Linked DNA regions of Homo sapiens: region 2 is linked to region 1. The links are contacts of gene promoters, found by promoter capture Hi-C in human tissues and cell types (Jung and others, 2019). All regions are on one chromosome and are shown on one strand. The core of a region is centred on a gene start or on the middle of the fragment in contact, and the rest is flanking DNA. Distances in the headings are between cores, read along the strand shown.

Region 1 (5,301 bases), core at 1,626-4,125:
AATTTGGGAGTTAACATTATAAACATAAGCATAAGAAAGAGACAACCAGAAGGTAGGCCTGAGAGAAGCATGTGAGACAACTGGATAAAAACTAGTTTCCACTCCCCTCAGTTGGTTAGACAACTCAAGCATCTTGGGCAATCTAACTTCTTTACTACCAATAAGAAACCCTTCATTTCCTCTGTGCTTGAACCTGAGCTTCACATAATTTATGACCATCCAGAAGTCTCAATGGCAAACGCCAGAACTACAGTCCCTAAACTAACCAAACCAGGTATCTCCATACAAATTCTAGACTTGAAGTTAGTGCTTAGTGCCAAATGAATATTCTTGATGGTAGACCTCAAACGTAGTACAAGGAGCATTGCCTTAGGTGCCAGAAAGAACTGGATTCAAATGAATTGTTTTGCCATTTAGTACCTGGGATATTTTACTTTACCTCTTTGAATCTTAGTTTTCAAATCTATAAAATATAAATAATAATAACAATACATACATATAACTTGTATCAAGTTTTGAAGATTAAATGAGGTACTAAATGTAAACTCTCTGGGACATAGGATATAACTATAACAATGAATGAATGAACAATATCTGTGATTTTTTTGGTAAACATGTTTTTTAATTAAGGGCTAGGCGAAGCTTAAGAACAAATGAATGAACATAGTCATGAACTGATTCATGATTATGTAATGGTGTGATTCAGTTTAGATAAAACATAACACAATTATGATGTAGTAAGGTTTATGATTTTCTGTACAAAGAAGAGGTGAAATTTGACAACTGTGACTAATTTGTCCTAGGCATGGAGCTAGTTAAAGCGTGATGTGATTTGAAGGGTACCTTAAGATATGTATCCAAGGGGCCCCGAAGTCTCCCTTAGAGTTTCATTCCCCAGTGACTCTTGCAGAGACATTCAGCTCACATCAGTCATTCATGTTTAGTGCAAATTATTTTATTAGATTTTTTTCTCTCTATGACAGTGAAGAGAAAACCACCGAGGAATAAGAGGTTGGCTGAAGGTAAGGAGAAGGTGAGGCTGTTTTGTAATAATGAACACCCACAGCAGATTCAGCTAGCTAGAGCCCAGGCCATAAGAATAGGGTCCTGGAGCCTTCCTCTGGTGAGAAATGAGGACCTAAAGAGAGAAAATAGGGCACAGAAAGGAGGGACTAACAAATGTCAAGTGCTTTTCCCTTAGCCTCTGTCTGGTTCCAGTTGCCTACACATAGGCTCTCATTTCCTTTAAATGTCACACAAATGCCTTTTCGTTTTTTGGTGTCATCTCACAAAGTAAAATCCTCTAAGATGAAAAAGTGAGGCTCAAATCATCTCACCAGGTAGCTGAAGGAAATCTGAGAGCAAAAATGGTTTCTTCAAAAAGTAGTAGTTTAAAAAAAAGCATGCAATGAACTAGAGAACTGTACAGGGTGTTAATGGAAAAAAATAAGTACTACAACTGGTTTGAGTAAATCAGTTCATAAATTAATTTTAACACTATATACTATTGTTACCTATTTATTATCACTTACCATTTTATTACAATATCATTTGTAATTATCCTTTCATCTAAGAAATTTAAGATATAATAAGACTTTCTGGTTTGGAAACTTTTTTTCTGTTTACTATTCTGATTTTCCTGAATAACTGTCCATAATAGATGTTTAGGAATTTAAATTTTTTACAGGAAAAAAATGCTTTCTCATTTACATTAATATGGTGAGTACTGGTGAGAGAATTGTTTCTCTTGATGGAAAGAGAATGCAGAGTTATATTAGTATGAAGTTAGAAATAAGACCTAAATGCTAACTATAGATTACATAAGAGTAAGGTTATCTATGTCAAGAGATATTGACTATAAATTCTAGTAGGGCTGGGAATGTGTTTCATTTATATCTAAAGACAAGTAGTAGTTGCTAACTTGAGGTTTACTGGATCATCAATTTACAACACAACGTGAAAAAAACCAGGGTCCTTATCCCTGAAGATTTTCAAAATACATCCTCCATATCACTGTTGGAACAGTCTCCAACTTCCCATGTGCTCATGTGCACAAACCATACACACACACACATCACACACCACTTGAATGTCCCTAATCACTCATCTTTATGCAGATTCCCTGATAATTATGTAGTCTGTATCAGCACAACAGTATCAAATCAAGCCTTCAAAGGTCTTAAAATAGAGGGTTTATATAACACTTCATGGTTATTTTGGTTTTCTATCAAAAGAGACAATAGGGTCCAAGAAATACACAAAACTTTGCTTCTAACCAACAGGGACATTTGCTATAAATTTTGTAGAAGACCCTTGCAATACATTGTCCAAGAAGTCCGTTAAAAATCCATCTCTAAACAAAAAAGTTTCCCTTTCACTGTCATACACTGAAATTCCAACTATTAGTTGCTATTTCAATTTACACACTGAAAACATACTTCCTTAGAAAGGGCCATGGAGGCTGCCTGTGGAGACTCACTCATGGCACCATGACAATGTGGTAACTACTCCAGTTAGGGAGTCTGGAAGTCAGAGGACATCAAAAGGGTTGGAAGTGCCTCATTGTGAACAAACAACCAGCTTCATGGTTTTGCCTTCTCCTAGGCTTGTCCAGTCTGTATTTCAGTGAATGTGATCAAAGAAAGCAGGGAAAGAACAGTTTTTCCTTGAAAACCCAGAGGAGCAAATGGTCTTTGATTTCTCATGAAAAGTCTTGGGCCTATCTCTTCATGTTAATTGTGATAGTAAAACAATAAAAAATGAGATTTAATTTTAACTTGTGTTGGTCGGTCTAGGGCAGTGAGTGAAGGTGACAGGCTGGAAAAATATTAATCCAAGTTGGTTATTTAACATCTGCTTTATTTGGAGGACACTATTGAAGCCACCTGCTCAGGACAATGAAATTCTTCAGTTACATTCTGGTTTATCGCCGATTTCTCTTCGTGGTTTTCACTGTGTTGGTTTTACTACCTCTGCCCATCGTCCTCCACACCAAGGTGAGTGAACCTGGAGAACAGACTGGTGGATTTCCTGACTTATTTAATTGTCCTTTATTAAAACTGTTTGCTGTTTAACTGCCTGGCTCAGAGCTGAATGAATGTTGACCCTTCATACCTAAAGTCAGGATGGTTGTACATGATGTTTTGGCCATTTTCTCCCTTTTTAATAATTAACATTGGTTGATTCTTAGTATGATTAAACATAATTAAATAGAATATTCAATCAGAATTGTTCTCTGCCTATCAACTAGATGAGAGGAAGAACAAAAGAAGCACAACCTTTGAGATTTTGCAGTTCAAGTTGTCATTCTCCAGGGAGCATGCATGGCTAGTGCAATGCCTTCCCCTGAGAATAGGCAGCAAAGCAATTGCTGGGGACAGAGGTGGAAGAACAAGGGAAATCCTAGGTCCAGCACAGACTAATTTACTTCTCAGCTCTGTGGCTTTGTCACAGAACTTCCTGGAAATTTAGTTCCCTTGTAGGAAAAGAAGACATTGAAAGCTTAGAGTAATTTCCCTTGGTCAATCAGAAAATCTAATAAAGCATTTACCATGTTCTGATAATTCCAGGTTTTGTTTCATTGTGGTGTACTTGTAAGCATTTTTGTTTGCTTTTTAAGAGTAGTCAGGGCATTAAGTCCAGAACAATAAGCTCAAGCATGTTTAATTTCTTGGTAAAATGATTTGAATCAGCAAACATTTAATGAGCACCTTCTCTGTGCCAGGCACAAACGTCACTTGGTAGTAAGAGGACAGGCTTTGGAGCCAGATTCTCTGCTTCAGGTCCCAGATTTACCACTTACAAACTGTGTCACCTGGGCATGCTACTTAATGTCTCTGTGCTTCTGTTTTCTCATATGAAAGATGTGTATAGTAGCAGGCTTGTTGTGAGAATGAAATGAAGAAACACTCTTCAAACACTTATTTGGAGCAGTGCCTGGCACACAGTAAGTGTGCAGTGCCAGTCTCCTTGGGTGTGTTGACTCCACAGGTGGGGCAATTCCCAGCACTCCATTATGCACAGTCCCTCCTCTTAATGGGCAAGAACCCTGCTGATGCTCTCCTCTAACAAGTACTAATCGAGGTTACACCAGTCTGGGTTATAATAGAATCATATTAACTATAATATGGTGGTCCCTCCAGCCTCTGCCAGAAGCCTTTGCCAGTGATCCTGGGACCTCTGAAGGGAATTCATGTGAGCTAATAAAGTCCTTTTGGACACTGTCAAGGCCTATCCTACCTGCAAAGCTGGAGAAGGGACTGGCCCCTGCTGTGGCATCTGTGGGTTGTCTCCCACCAGGTGCAATCTTCTAGCTGCAGCATTCTTGGCTTATCTCTCCTTGTGCTGAGGTCTCACAGAGCTACATGGAGGGAAGGGAAAAACTCCCCACCCCTTTTGGTCCAAATTTCTAAGCCCTCAAATTCGTACAGAATTTGTAAATAATAATAATAACTAAAAGACCTTGTCAGCTGTTTTTGGCTTTGTTGGTTTTGTTTTTCAAATTCTGTGTGACTAACCCTTTCCCTCCCACCCTGCCACTCCCACCCCGGCTCCTTGTGAGGTCTCCTATATGAATCTCTGGCAGCCCCATCAGATGACAAATTCCAGCACAGAAATAGTGCTCTATTCTGAATTCTCACCCCATCTCCTTGCCAAGAACTTCATCTAAGACACATTATGATCTTCACTTTGCAACTCTCCTGGTCCCATGAGTCCTCTAGATTTGGCTGAATCCTATCATGACCATATCCTGCTTCATACCTGGAGCCCTGCTATATTTTAATATTTTTGAGTTAGTCTCAGCATACATTCTTACTTATGGCAGAGAAAGTAGGAAATTAAACTAGTCAAGACAAATTTAGGTCATTACCACATATCATCTGTGCTGCTCTTTTTACATATAAATGCATGACAATTTGATTATCCTCCATAATTTTCTGAGAAATGAATATAAACTCTTTGAAAAACAAAATGAGTAAATAAATCAAAAGCAATCATTTTAGTACATGATTCATTCACTGGGAAGTGTATTATTTTTAAGAAATGCAGCCACTGATTATTTTTTCCAAGGTGCTATGACAAAAGAACATTAGGTCCATGCAGGAACCAGGTGTCTGGCACCAAGTTGCATCTGGTGAGCTGGTTCCTCTTTCCTTTCCTCCTAATCAACTCATTTGTTAAAACTCAATTAATGTTAATGGAGGATTTATTCCTAGTATAATAACATGATATTATTTTTTGGCCACTTTAAACATATATTTAATCATTCAATAAACTGCTAATTAAACTGAAAGACTATTA
Region 2 (5,713 bases), core at 37-2,536, 36 kb before region 1:
GCTTTGTGTTTCCTGACTCTCTTCCCGATTATGCCATACTTTCCCCCAGAGTCTGTCCACTTCTCCTTCCTAAAGCCTACTCATTCTTCATAGCTTTACCTATTGTTTTTGCTAAAATTCTTCCAAAGTAACCTAATCCTCAATCTTATCCTCTGAATTCCAAAAGCATCAACTATCTGTGAATTTTAGCACTGTCTTTTTTAGTGTATATATAATGTATATTTGATTTTAACATATATGTATACATAGATGCATATACACATGCACATATTATAATATGATATATAATACCCATATGTAATTATAATACTTTGTATAAGTTATTATATAAAGTTATAAACAATTCTTATAATTATTATTATTGCCATTGGTGTTTATATTCTTCCTACTCAATTGCAGTTGCTTTGACAGACATGACTGATAACCTTAAACCTGCATTGTTTTTGTGTCCTTAGATAGAAAGCCTCAGTGTGTGTTTGAGCAGAGGGAATGTCAGAATGTGTAGGCTATGGCTTGAAGAAACCAAGCTTTAGGGGATAACTTGCAAAAAATATGGAAATGCCTGAAGTGCTTTGTTTATTGCAAACAGGACAAATAGCAGAAATAGCAAGTCAGGCAAACAAGAAGTTAGATTATGGTCCTCAAACCCAGAAGAAAAGAAATATCCAAAGTTAGGTGCTGGGAAAATAGTATCTGTGCAAGGTGCTTTCCTATAACAAACAATGTCCTATTTAAAAACTATAAAGAAGTGTACTGAAACCCAAACCTCTTGTAGTCTGGTGTTGAAAGGGAAGGGAAGGAACAGAAGAAGAAAGAAGGAGGGAACATAGGGAGAGGTGGGGGAGGAAGGAAGGAAATCGTAGACCTCGGCCCAGTCTTTCTGGAAATTTGTACCTTACAGAGCCACTGGGAAAATGAGTAGTACTTATGACTAAGATGTCTGAGCCTGAGGGTTTGATTCCTGGAAATCACAGTCTTAAGAGGAGAATTTCTGAAACCTGTGGGCAACAAATAATCGAAACATTGCTGAAAATAATGTAAAACTTTGTTATTACCCTTCTGTTTCCGCTGACTATAAAAAAAGGATCAATATGAAGAGTTATGGTTTTTAACTTTTAATGTCCTAATTTTAAGTTTAAAAATGAAGTGGTAGAATCTACACATTGCAAGAAACTTTTGCTTATAAAAATAATAGTTGTATTGTGAGATTCTCTGAAATATAGATAGAAAGTCCATCAATGTTTCGAAGGTAAATTTTTCTCTTTGAGCATGTTTAATGAGAACAGAATTATGTCTAGCTTATACATCACTGTATTCCTGTACCCAGCCTAGTTCCTTGTACTTACTATATATACTCAAGATGTATTTGCTGACCATGAATGAATGAGCCAAAATTGACTCAGGATTACCATGTGGGCCTAATTTACTTGAGCAGTCAACCTACAGAGCAAAGTCTCTGGTAGGTTACCTTCACAGGAGGTGATGATCCTATTGGGATATGAAGAAAGTGAGAACTATTGATCCAGCGAGGTCCATGCTGCTGATAGTTTCAACCTCAAAGGCTGTCCTTGTTTGGACTCAAGGGTCTGTTAGGTAAGTCCAGCTCTCCAGTGTGAGAGCTTTATCCACTCAGCATAACCTCTAAGAAGACTTGCACTTCCCCTGGTCATTGTGGTCTCCCTGTAAATAAAGGTTGCTGTCTCCTTGAAAGCCTCTGATTTTCTTCAACAAGCTCTTTCACCTGGCAAGTTATAATATTTATGGAGAATATATTACATGCCAGATTGTCTAAAGTGTCCAACACTATGGGGTAGATTCTTTTTTAATTATATTTTATGCTAGAAGTGTAAAACCCTTGAATCTGGATTAAAGGATAGAGCAGATCTGGGACTTACATAAATGCATTTCTGAACATGATTGAAATATATAGTAAGCAGTTATTTTATTAGTACAAAAATTATACAGCCATTTTTATAAGTCATATGACATTCAGCTTAATATAAAAGACCAGGTGTTATTCTAAGCACTTTAACTTATTTGGTTCTCCCAATAAGCCTATAAGTTAAGAACTAATATCTTCATTTTTGACAATAAGAGTGAGTAACCTACCTAGGGCCACATAGGTCATAAGTGGAGGAATTAGAATGTAAACTAAAGAAGCTTGAAGTAAGGGCCTTCACTCACCACCACCATATACCATAACAATTCTGTGTACCTGTGGTACCCTTCACCTTTGCACCACAAGTCATACAGCTGTGAATACCTGCTCCATGCAAGAGCCAAACTTGGAACCAATAACAATAGAAAACAGAGAAGGGATCCCACAGGGCAAAGCAAGCAGGCTCCAGGGTCCAGGAAGTGAGCAGAAAGTGAGACAGAGTGGGCAGAAGGTGTGGATTCTCTTCCTTGTCATTTGCAGGTGAGAGGATAGGCAAAGGCAATTGCTGAGGACAAAGGCTAGATTGCCAGGAGGTGATAAATAAATAGAAACTGAGAAAGAAGAGAGCAAAATTACTCTTAAGAAAACTAGAGATAAAAGAGAGAATTAGAATGTTAATTTGAAAGTGTACTGAATAAAGTGGATTTGAAACTCTCAAGATTTAGGGAATAACAGGGGTGAATTAAAGATGTATGTAGCCAAACAGATTGAAAATGGTAGAAAGAGGGAATAATGCCTAGTACGAAGACAAGTGGTGAATGTGGTTGCTTTAGAAAAGAGAACATATGTGTCATCTGCCAACATTAAAGCGGGGAAGTGAAGAGGTGAGAATATCAAACTATTTTTGAAGTGAAGAATAAGACATCTTTATCTTCTCAATATAACCTTACTACTGACTACCTGGAGCTATGCTTTATGGATACAGGGTTTTACTATATATAGCTCTACCAAGAAAAATAGGCAACTCGTCTTCAAAGACACTATACAATGAAATAAAAACACCAAAAATAGACCGTTTTTTCCTCATGTTGAGGGATTGTAACATTAAATTTTCCTCTTGCTTCTAAAACATTACTCGCCCCTTGCATTCTTTCCTTCAGCATATATAGGGCTTTTTACCCAAATAAATGATCAACCGAATCTCTTGCTTCCTCCTCTTTCCTTCTCTTTATAGCTAACCATGTCACTGAAACCATTGGCTCATTAGTGACCCTTTAACCCACTGCAGTCTGACTTCCACCTCCATGTCCTCAGGAAAATACTCCCATGAGGTCACTCACAACCTCCATCCAAGGACACATGCAAGGAATATTCCTGTTGTAACTCACCCTGTCCTTGATCTCATCTTCTCTTGATGGTTCTTCTCCCATTTCTCTGATGGACCTGTGTCATTCTTGTATAATTTCCTATTCCATCTGCTCAATAAAAGCCAGTGTTCCCTAGGGTCCTCTTGTAGGTCATAATCTGCAACTTTCTATATATGTTAGGAACATAATCCAAAAGAAACAAACTTGAAGAAGACACAAAATAAGTTGTCTAGAAATAAGTGGTGAAGAAGAAGAAGTGACAATGTTGGGATGATGAAAATTCTGGGAACTTTAAATTAAATAAGGTAAATTAAAAATGATTAGAAGCCAAAGATAAAACTGTCACATAAAGACATAGGAAGTTAGGAGGATTTTTGGCACTTCTGTGTGACTGAACTGGAGATTATGGACAAGGCTGAAGAGTCTAGGTCTGTTTAGCTTGGGTCAGAAGACCTGATCAGGCTTCCTGGTCCACACCAGGCTAATGTTACCACAGAGGTCAGTAGGGACCCCAAACTCCCTCTTAGTAATGACCCTTTTTGAAAACTAGACTTTTTAAAGATGCTGATAAAAGCTATATTCTGTATTCCTAGGAAAAAGCATATATTCACATAGATATGAATTCACAAAGTTTACAGAATTTTACCCTGAACTATGAAAAGCTCCAACTTTTGCAGGCAGGCAGAATGCCCCACACATTAACAAGTTTATTCGCACTTTGTCCAGAAGTCCCTACTGATTAAATCATTGCGGTTCTTGGCAATTGATTTTTGAAAAAAAACTGCACTTTATTCATTTTTTCACTCTAGATACTATCCTATTCAGCTGCTCTACATTTAGGGCTGAAAAGGAAACAGTGATTGTCCTATTAACATATGTCTGCCTGACCTGTGAAACTCTGGTATGTGTTTGGCTTCAATTCACAATAGTTCTCAATTCAATTACTCTCTCACAACCAAATACTTTTGGAAAGCTTTCTCTATGACTGAAATACTGTTGTATTATCCAAGAGGGAAAAAAGGATGTTTAATTTTGTCAGTAACAGATAATTATATGTTTATCTCACTCAATAGAGAATTCCTTGGTATAATACTTGGAAGTCATTGTCTTTATTAAGGCATTCCCTTCTCACTCATATCTGAGGAAAACATGGTCTGGTGATGACATGTACTTACTTCAATAACAAATGTTCATCTAACCACTCATTCAAAAACCTTTTTTGTCTTTGGTCACCAAAATGCCTGCTATGCTAGATCCACAGGCTAGGAGAATGAATAAGAAAAGTTCTTTCTTTCAAAGGGCTGAGCCACCTAGCAGACATAGACATGCATATATTTAATACATAAGGACACAGTATAGTAATCAGTGGTTCTTAACCTTGGCTTCATATTAGAAATACCACGGAGACCTTTTAAGAAATGATGCTGGGAAGAGAGGTTCTGGTTTAATTGGTCTGGGGCAGTGTCTGGACATCAGCATTTGTTAACACCCAGGTAAATCTAGTATGTAGCCTCTGTCATGGAGGAAAATACAAGGCACTGTGAAAGCATTTAGCATTTACCAAGGATCTATAATAAATGTCTGGAGGATGCGATCCCTGAATTGATTCATTCAGTGAAGGAATATCAAATCAGAGAGAAGGCTCTCCCAACCAGATGCATCAGTACATGCAATAACATGAAAATGCGAGGGCATGTAGTGGGTTCATTCACTCTTTCACTCAATACTTATTGAGCGCCTTCTATATCCCAGGTACTGTCCAGGGACCTAAGATCTAGGCCCAGTAACCATACAAAAATCACCCTGCTCTCATATAAATTATAGTCTGATGGTAAATACTGACATTATACCATTAATTGCAATAATGTTTACATTATAATTTTGAGTATTTCTATAAAGAAGCAGAGGAAATAAGTTCTAGTTGCATCAGACCCCAGCCACTCTGGTGGGCCAGGAAGTTTTATATGAGGAACTGATATTTAGGCTGAAACTTGAAGGATGGGCAGGGGGTGGTTGGTAGAAGTGGGAATGGAACACACAGAGCTGTTGGCAGAGAGAATAGTTTTGCAAAACCTTAATGAGGAATGCATGGCCAGTGGGTGCTCAAAGCACAATGAGTCAGGGGAGAGTGGTGGAGGGTGAAGAAGGAGAATGTTTCCTCAGGTGGTCAGATTATCCAGGACCTTGTAGGCTGTGCTGAGTCCTGACTTAGATCACATGCTGCACCAGTGACACATCTGTAAGTGGATCTCTTGGTAGTTAAAACAGTATTTTCATAAATACTTCAATGTCTGAAATATAGTCCTGTCTTTTAGATAATGTTCAAAGATGCTAGTTGACTTGCACAAGTTTACACAGCTTAAAATCAAGCTGCAGAACAAAGATTAGAGCTCATGCCTGGTGACTCCATGGCTGAGCCTCTTGTCATCATATTACAAGTAATACTTTTGTTTATTATACTCTGTAT

What was found. The method cuts DNA at HindIII sites, captures the fragments that hold promoters and counts their contacts. A contact is called where the count stands out against the background at its distance.
Region 2: a fragment that was not itself captured here is called in contact with the fragment with the promoter of SLC13A1 in region 1 in 1 of the 25 tissues and cell types used here (bladder).

What each region holds. Positions count from the first base shown.
Region 1 is chr7:123,197,543-123,202,843 of GRCh38, reverse strand. SLC13A1 (solute carrier family 13 member 1) reads left to right here and starts at 2,875. Exons shown (of 15, transcript NM_022444.4): 1 at 2,875-2,996. The coding sequence starts at 2,898. The HindIII fragment of the contact is 8,203 bases long and covers 1-5,301 here.
Region 2 is chr7:123,231,896-123,237,608 of GRCh38, reverse strand. No RefSeq gene overlaps it. Among named protein-coding and RNA genes, the nearest start is that of SLC13A1, 35 kb to the right of the region's middle. The HindIII fragment of the contact is 3,808 bases long and covers 1-3,190 here.